2 separate regions of the Homo sapiens genome follow, and region 2 is linked to region 1. Evidence: promoter capture Hi-C in human tissues and cell types (Jung and others, 2019). All regions are on one chromosome and are shown on one strand. The core of a region is centred on a gene start or on the middle of the fragment in contact, and the rest is flanking DNA. Distances in the headings are between cores, read along the strand shown. Region 1 holds the start of STXBP6 (syntaxin binding protein 6). Region 2 overlaps STXBP6 (syntaxin binding protein 6).

Region 1 (3,844 bases), core at 406-2,905:
CAGGACCCCGGCACACTACTCATTGGCACTAAGGTAGCCCCATGACATGTCTCTACAGAGATAGGCAGAGCAAAAGAAACTTACTTTTTCAGGCAATTTTCTCTGATTTTCATAAAACTGTAGCTACCAAATGGGGATACCTAGGGTATCAGTTTTATGATATCCTAGGTATCCCCGTTTCTCCCATTCTTCCCCTCCAAACCATCTTCCTGGGTCTGCTGCCCTGTCCATCTTCACAGAATTCAGTTCGGATTGTCTCCTCCCCCAGCATCTCTGCTATCTCCACGTAGTCTACAAACTAAGTGCAGGAGCCACAGACTGACAGTCAGGACTTCTGCCTGAGCCCCCATCCACAGCTCAAACCCTCTTTCCTATTTCACTATGCTAATGCTTACCCCTTGCACTCCAAACAAGCAGGTCTGTGTACCACCATCTAACACCCCAACAGGGCCAGGCTAGGGTGAGGTGAGTCACAGCACTTAAAGGTTCACCAAAGAATTCAGTAATCAAGGTTAATATTTTAATGGAATATTTAAAAAAATCAAAATTAATATCAAAAATGCATGATGAAAAATAACAAAATTTTAAATAAAGACAGGGTAAGTTTAGGGGTTTTTCCTATTGCTTCAGGCTCAAAAGTGCCTTCCGGGGCACTGTTATCGGCCCTGCAGTGACTCCCCACACAGATACTTTTACTAATGATGTTTCCCAAAAGTTAGTTCTTACAACCGCTTTCTACATTAGTAACGTCTTTCTTCTTGAACGCTCCAGCATTTAAGTGTAGCGCTCTACTGTCAGGAAAACCCATTTCCCCTAGTAACTAGTAGTACTTCGAAGATATTCTGAATCATCTTGGATCCTTTCCAGCACTTTCCCAAACCACAGTGAGCACTCAGCACCACTTCGCTAAAAGAGTGCAGAATCACAATGCTCAAATCACTGTCTGGGGGGTTCAGCAGGGAGGGGACGCAGATATGTTTTGTTTAGTCCAGGGTGTTTTGAGAAAATTGAATTTGTTATCAAGATTTTACAAATCAGGATATTGTACATGAATATACTCCGTCATTTCTGGAAAAATCAGAAAATCTAGCAACACTAGGTCTAATTCTTGCCCGATAGCAAGGGACCCTGAGAGCAGATAAGCGGCCCTGCCTTCGGAGCTCTCTCCAGTTCGCCTTCCCCCAGTTACAGTGCCTGTCAGGCCCCATTAGATCTTTGAGTTTGCTATCGTAAGAATAAAGGAAGGAGCGCACAGGATAAAAACCCATCGGCTGGGTCTATTCGTTTTTTCCTAGAGAAAAAAAAAAATGTTTCCTGGTTGTCCTTTCGAATATAGTCTCACAGAGAAGCTCACAGAAGCAGCCCACCTTTCTAGCCCACAAACTTCCCACAAGCCGTGAAAGTCGCACCGGCTCTTGCACCCAGATCGGTTTCTCCCGGGTCTTTGGCTCAGGGCCCCCGCCCCTACATTGGCCTTTCCCTTCCTCTGCCACCTCCGCGCTCCGAGGCCTGGGGCGGGTCGCGGGTCCCGGCCCCCAGCCCCCAGCCCCTAGCCGCTGCTCTTTGCCCCGGGCCAGGGCGCTCGGGCTCGCCCACGGCGGCACTGAGCATGCTCAGAGGCGGCCGCGCGGGCAGGTTTGCTTCGCAGGCGCTCGCACTCGGCGGCGGGCGGGCGCGCGGCTGCAGCTGGAGCTCCAGCGCCCGGAGTTGGAGTTGCCGGGAGTTTCCCCCCAACCCCTCCCTTTTCGCGCGCGGCAGCAGGAGCCGGCGCGGGAGCCGCGAGCGGCGGCGAGCCAGCACCCGGGCCGGCTAAGCCTTGTCCGGAGCCCGGAGCCCCGCGCGGGGCAGCCCCCCGGGGAGGAGCCTCGTGCTCTGGGACGCGTGCCGCGCACTGGCACGGCAGGGGCGCGAGCCAGGCTGCACGGTAGGACCGGGGCGAGGGGAGCCAGGCGGTCAGGGCGGAGGCCAAGCCCGGGAGATGCGGTTGCAGCCGCCACGGCTGTTGGGGCGCCTGGCGCTCCGTCCGAGGCGGGTGGCTGTGAGGCCAGGGGAGTAGGCAGGCTCCCAGAGAGATTCTTCCAAGTTGGCGGGTGGCGGGAGAGGGGGCCGCGCGCCCCGGCGCAGCTGCTTTGTGCGCGCAGAGAGGGACTCGTGTCCCTGGTTCTCTCCAACCCTGGGACCCGTTGTGCGGGCAGTATTGGGCAAGCCGCAGAACGGAGCGATTTCCTCCGAGAAAGTTGAGGATGGAGCCTTTTTTTCCGCACCGTCCCCGCGATGGCATGGGCCCCGAGAATGCTGCCCCGAGGCTCCCAGTGTGGGGGAGCTCGGGGTCGCTGCGCCTCTAGCTTGAGCGCAGAAATCCGCGAATCACTCCGATCTTCGCGAACTCTGGCATCTTCTAGGAAAATCATTACTGCCAAAACTGAGGCGAGCTTTTCTGGCGGGCACGGCACCCTGCCCCCAGGGCGCTGGCCCTGGGCGATGCCCCCTTTCCGATCTCAGGCTTGGTCAAGGGCGCCAGGTTCCGAATTCGCGCTTGCCGTGCACGCCGGCATCGAGCCTCACCAACACCGCCGGGCAACGTGGCTGGAGTAGGTGGGTGGCTTGATTTTCCCTCCAACCTTTCCTCAGGTTTACAACACCCCGCCACCTCACCACCCCACCCCGTTCATCTTCACAGAGGACAGGACCTGCAGGTGGAGAATTTGGAAAGACATCTTGTTCTTTAGGAGAAAGTCCCCGGGGTGTATCTGCCCTTGGTTCTGGCCCCAGGATTTCATAACGAACCTTCTCCCCTTCCTATTACGCTTCCCTAGGGACTGGGTGGGAGAGAATAGGATCGGTAGGTCCGCAGGAACTTCCATCTCATTCCACCCTCTCCTAAGATTGCCTTCCGGGCGACCCCAGGACCCTGGAACTGGCATTGTGCGGATTGTAAGGCTGTGGAGGATGCCGACGAATTTTTCCTGGCTCCACTTTTTTCACTTCTTGTTTTGAGTTTTGGGGTTTTGCCTGCACACTAGTCAGAGCTGCGCCCTAGTCAGAGCCACCCTGGGGGTGGAGGAGCTTCAGCCGAGGCTGTGAGCTGCTGTTCGTCTCAGAGGCTGCTAGTGGGAATCGGTCCAGAAATGATTATGCAGGCTAGAAATATGCCTCTCTTTTTTTCTTTTTTGGCTGAACACCTTGGCTGTTGGGTTTGTGTGTTACGTTCTTAAAGGGACACCCTCACACTGCTCAAGTGCCAGGATTTAGGGGCTCACCATTCTGCTGCCTGTTTTTCTCTTTGCTTTTTCCTTGAGGGTAGTCTGCTTTGGGGCCGATTTCTAGATGTGCGAATCACATAATGTGGATACACTACACAGTTCTAGAGTCAGACAGACTTGAGGTCAAGTTTCAGCTTTACAGCTGATGACAGTGCTGATGGACAAATGATTAGTCACTCTGAACTTAAGTTTTCTCTTCTGTCAAACGGAGATAATCGTGGCCTTACCTCCCTCCATTGCAGGGTTGTTGTAAACTCAGATGAGATAATGAAAATGAAAAGAGCTAAGAAAACTTTAAAAGCACCATTCAGGTCTTAGATATTGTCTCTGTGCTCTTTACTCAGTTGTTTTGAATGAGCTAATTCTTAATTATAACAAGACATCTAGGTCTTCTCTCCTCTCTGTCCACTCCTCACCAAGTGGTTTAGTTGCTTGGGCCTTTGGAAGCATCTGTTTACCCTTTTTCTTTCTCTATCCTCAAATCCATCTCTTTTGATTTTAAGAATTGGAGCTCCAGTCCTCATATTTATCTGAGGAAGGCAGCATGATGTAGATTAGGAGATGACTGGGGTGGCCTTATC
Region 2 (3,844 bases), core at 513-3,012, 76 kb after region 1:
CTAGAACCCATTGGGAGAAGCTAATAAATAAGAATTCATTACTTAGCGTGATCAAAGGCAGAAGAAGGGTATTAATTTAATGGTCTTCTGTTGCATGTATAGTTATTGTGTAGAAGATGATATAATTATTTCCATTATGAATGGAATTAGGGAAATGGATTTACATTAAAGGAGATTTTGAAGGGGCATAAAGAATTTCTTGACTCTAAGGACTGTTGGACAGTGGAAAGACTTGTATTCTGGAAGTGTGAAATATGTTTCTTACAGAACAGGAATAGAGTGGGTACTGCTTGCCAGTTAGAGGGAGGTGCAGTTGGGGTAGTAATTAACAAACTTTCCAGATCCCAGTTTGTACTACTCATCTCATATTGTGTTTGACATTTTTGGGAAGTAAATAAGTACCCCCTTTTTGTCTTTATTTTTTCATAGTTATTACAAATATGAAGACCTTGCTTTTAATGTTTCTATAATACATTTCAAGCAATTATGAGATTAAACTGTAAATTGAAAATTACTTCACCTGCAAATTCACTTGCTGCTGATTATTGTATGAACCCTTACAATGTTGTCAATTCCAACTTTCCTTTCTTTTCCTTCTTTAAAAGATTCACTGCGTGCTGTCCTCACTTGTTCTACAATGAGTGCCAAATCTGCTATCAGCAAGGAAATTTTTGCACCTCTTGATGAAAGGATGCTGGGAGCTGTCCAAGTCAAGAGGAGGACAAAGAAAAAGATTCCTTTCTTGGCAACTGGAGGTCAAGGCGAATATTTAACTTATATCTGCCTGTCAGGTAATGAGAACCAGATATTAATATTATTAAAATAACTTCCATTTTAAAACAGTTCATTCTGAGGTATCCAGGAGGTTTACATTCACAGGTTTTGTAGGTGTCTGCACTGTCTTGCTCCTTTTCCCCGTTTTTCTGGTCTTCCTCTTTACTGGTGACACCTTGTTTTTGAGGTTGCCGCGTATTGGAAAGGTAGTGAAGTTCAATTCGGGTGTATTTTCCAGTTCATTAAGAGCTTTCGTAAAATGTTTCGCAGACTTGTTTGTCCATACTTGCCCTCACGGGGACACTGACAGAGAATGGGCTATCCTCTGGAATTCTCGTTTTAGAACAGTTGCTGGTATCTGAATAATTGTCATTACTCACAGCCTGACTTTCATTGGCTTTGTTTTTCTAGACAGTTGCCAATAATCAGTAATCACTTGTCTTAAGATAAATATTGGCACCTTATGGAATGTGAGGAGGTTGATTCAGTTCACAAGTCGTTGCTTTGCCTGACAGCCATTGCCTTGTCAAGAAGAGGCATCTGTTTTATTAAGCTTTGAATCTTGTTTTTTTTTTTTCTTTCTCTTTCTGTTTGTGATTGTAGGAGATCTGTGGGATTTACAATGGATTCGTATTAAGATTTTTGAGATAAAATCTGGATAAATTTTTCATGGAGTTATTGGTGATGCTAATCTAAACACATGGAGCATTTGTGATATTTCTGATAATATTTCTTGTATGGAGTGATGGAAGATTTAAGCTTATTTTAGTTTATCTTTTTAAAAACTTTCCTTCAATTGTAGTTTTGGGAATAAAACTTTATGTTTTTGGACCCATTTCTAGCTTTTTAAAAAATTAAACCTTTGATCATTTATCAGAATTTATTTTAGGGTAAAAGTAACTTTTTACCAGAAAGAACATGTAAATTTCTAAGACTGTGTCTTAGATTAAAATGAAGTAAGAACATAGCACTTTGGTAAGAATTATTTTTCAAAGGGCCAGGCGCGGTGGCTCATGCCTATAATGCTCAGCACTTTGGGAGGCCAAGGCAGGAGGATCATCTGAGGTCAGGAGTTCAAGACCAGCCTGGCCAACATAGTGAAACCCTGTCTCTATTAAAAATAAAAAAATTAGCCAGGCATGATGGCACTCACCTGTACTCCCAGCTACTCAGGCGGCTGAGACAGGAGAATTGCTTGAACCCAGGAGGCAGAGGTTGCAGTGAGCCGAGATCACACCACTGCACTCCAGCCTGGCTGACAGAGTGAGACTCTGTCTCAAAAAAAAAAAAAAAAAAAAAAAAGGAAGAAAGCTTTTATTTAAATAAGTGTGAGAGAATTGACCTTGAAACATTGGTTTCTGTTTATTCCAAATAAGGATTAGGTTAATAAAAAAATTGGGTTATTGTCAGAAGATATTTGTATTTCTTTAGTGCGCTAAGCAGTGCCGGGCATATTCTAGGGCCTCAATTAATATCTAGTGACTAAGTGGAAGAAAGAAGTAGCCTCACCTAATACTTTCCTAGAATTTTGTTAATGAAATTCAAGTGTGTTTTGTTTTGTTTTGAGACAGGGTCTCACTCTGTTGCCCAGGCTGGAGTGTAGTAGCACAACCATGGCTCACTGTAGCCTTGACCTCCTTGGGTTCAATCGATCCTCCTGCCTCAGCCTCCCAAGAGCTGGGACTGCAGGCACACAACACCATGCCCAGCTGATGTTTGTATTTTTTTGTAAAGATGAGTTCTCACTCTGTTGCCTAGGCTGGTCTCGAACTCCTGGGCTCAAGCAATCCTCCTACTTAGGTCTCCCAAAGTGCTGGGATTACAGGGATAAACCACCATTTTTGTAGTTTTTGTAGCAATGGGGTCTTGTTATGTTGCCCAGGCTGGTCTTCAAACAGTCATTTCCCCTTGGCCTCCAAAAGTGCTGGGATTACAGGCATGAGCTATCACACCCAGCCCAGGTCTTAAAAATATTTTCATATTCTTAAATTTAGATTCCACAGTTCTGCTTACGCAAACAATGAATAGAATACACTTAAATAAAGACTGATTTGCATTTGAGCTGAGCTGAACATCGGCCTAGTATGGATACCTAGTGATTCTAATTTTGTTAAGCTCTATTTTCTCAATATTTCATTGACATTTCTTATAGATGAGTAGTTGAAAGAAAGGTAGACGGTCTAGAAGCTACTTGAATTTTGCCTAGTACCTATGTATAATTGAAGAATAGTTGTTTGCATTTTAGGCATATACTGTTGTCTGCCTAATTTTGATCATGAAGCCTGCAAGAGTGATATAGGGACTCTAACAGCCTCATCTCAGTGAAATAGCATAACCATTTCATTTCCCCTGCCATAGAAGATAATGACCTGGGACTTACGGAATAACTGTATTTCCTTTGCAAATTACCAAGACCTTCAGGTTTAAAGTCCAAAACTATGACAATTGCTTTTTTGTTGCATTCTAATGGAGGAAAATCTTTTGTTCTTCAGTCTTTTCATGGTTTTGAATCTTGAGAGGATAGATTGATAAAGTAGATCTGACATTTAAGCAGACAGTGTAGTGGAAATGGGGGCAGGAGAAGGGCAGGCAACTTTGACACCCAAGATTTTTGCAGTTTGATGTTTCTTGTAAGTGACAAAGAAGCAGCCACCCTTATTTTTTAACTTGTGCAAAGCTTAGAGGCATATCAGTTACATCCCTGATAAGGTAATGTTTTAATTAGCAATTAATTAGTCAAATATTTATTAAGAATTTTTCTGTGCCAAGCATTCTATGTTCCGTGGGTACCGCTATGAAAAGAATTCATGCATCTTACCTAATTTGGTGGGCAAGTAGCAATAGACATTAATCCATCACTAAAATAAACATAGTTATAAACTGTGAAAGATTAAAAAAAATACAATGATGTGAAAGCATGTATGCAGAGAATTTGGCCTGGTTTGGAGAACCAAGAGTTTTGAGAAAAGTAGGGCTTCACTGGTTTTGAAAAGAGGATTGTGTGGGTGAGAGGGCATTCCAGGCAGAGGGAATGGCAGGTTCATTAAAAAACTAAGCAGGATTTTGAATT

Evidence for each region. Contacts are between HindIII fragments. The study calls those that stand out against the background at their distance.
Region 2: a contact is called between a fragment that was not itself captured here and the fragment with the promoter of STXBP6 in region 1, in 7 of the 25 tissues and cell types used here (H1 embryonic stem cells, IMR-90 fibroblasts, dorsolateral prefrontal cortex and 4 more).

The regions. Positions count from the first base shown.
Region 1 is chr14:25,047,958-25,051,801 of GRCh38, reverse strand. STXBP6 (syntaxin binding protein 6) reads left to right here and starts at 1,655. Exons shown (of 6, transcript NM_001394410.1): 1 at 1,655-1,924. It overlaps LOC124903295 (a long non-coding RNA gene), which reads right to left and starts at 1,458. Exons shown (of 2, transcript XR_007064091.1): 1 at 1,368-1,458. The HindIII fragment of the contact is 10,437 bases long and covers 1-3,844 here.
Region 2 is chr14:24,971,612-24,975,455 of GRCh38, reverse strand. It overlaps STXBP6 (syntaxin binding protein 6), which reads left to right. Exons shown (of 6, transcript NM_001394410.1): 2 at 606-791. The coding sequence starts at 638. Among named protein-coding and RNA genes, the nearest start is that of STXBP6, 77 kb to the left of the region's middle. The HindIII fragment of the contact is 4,072 bases long and covers 1-3,798 here.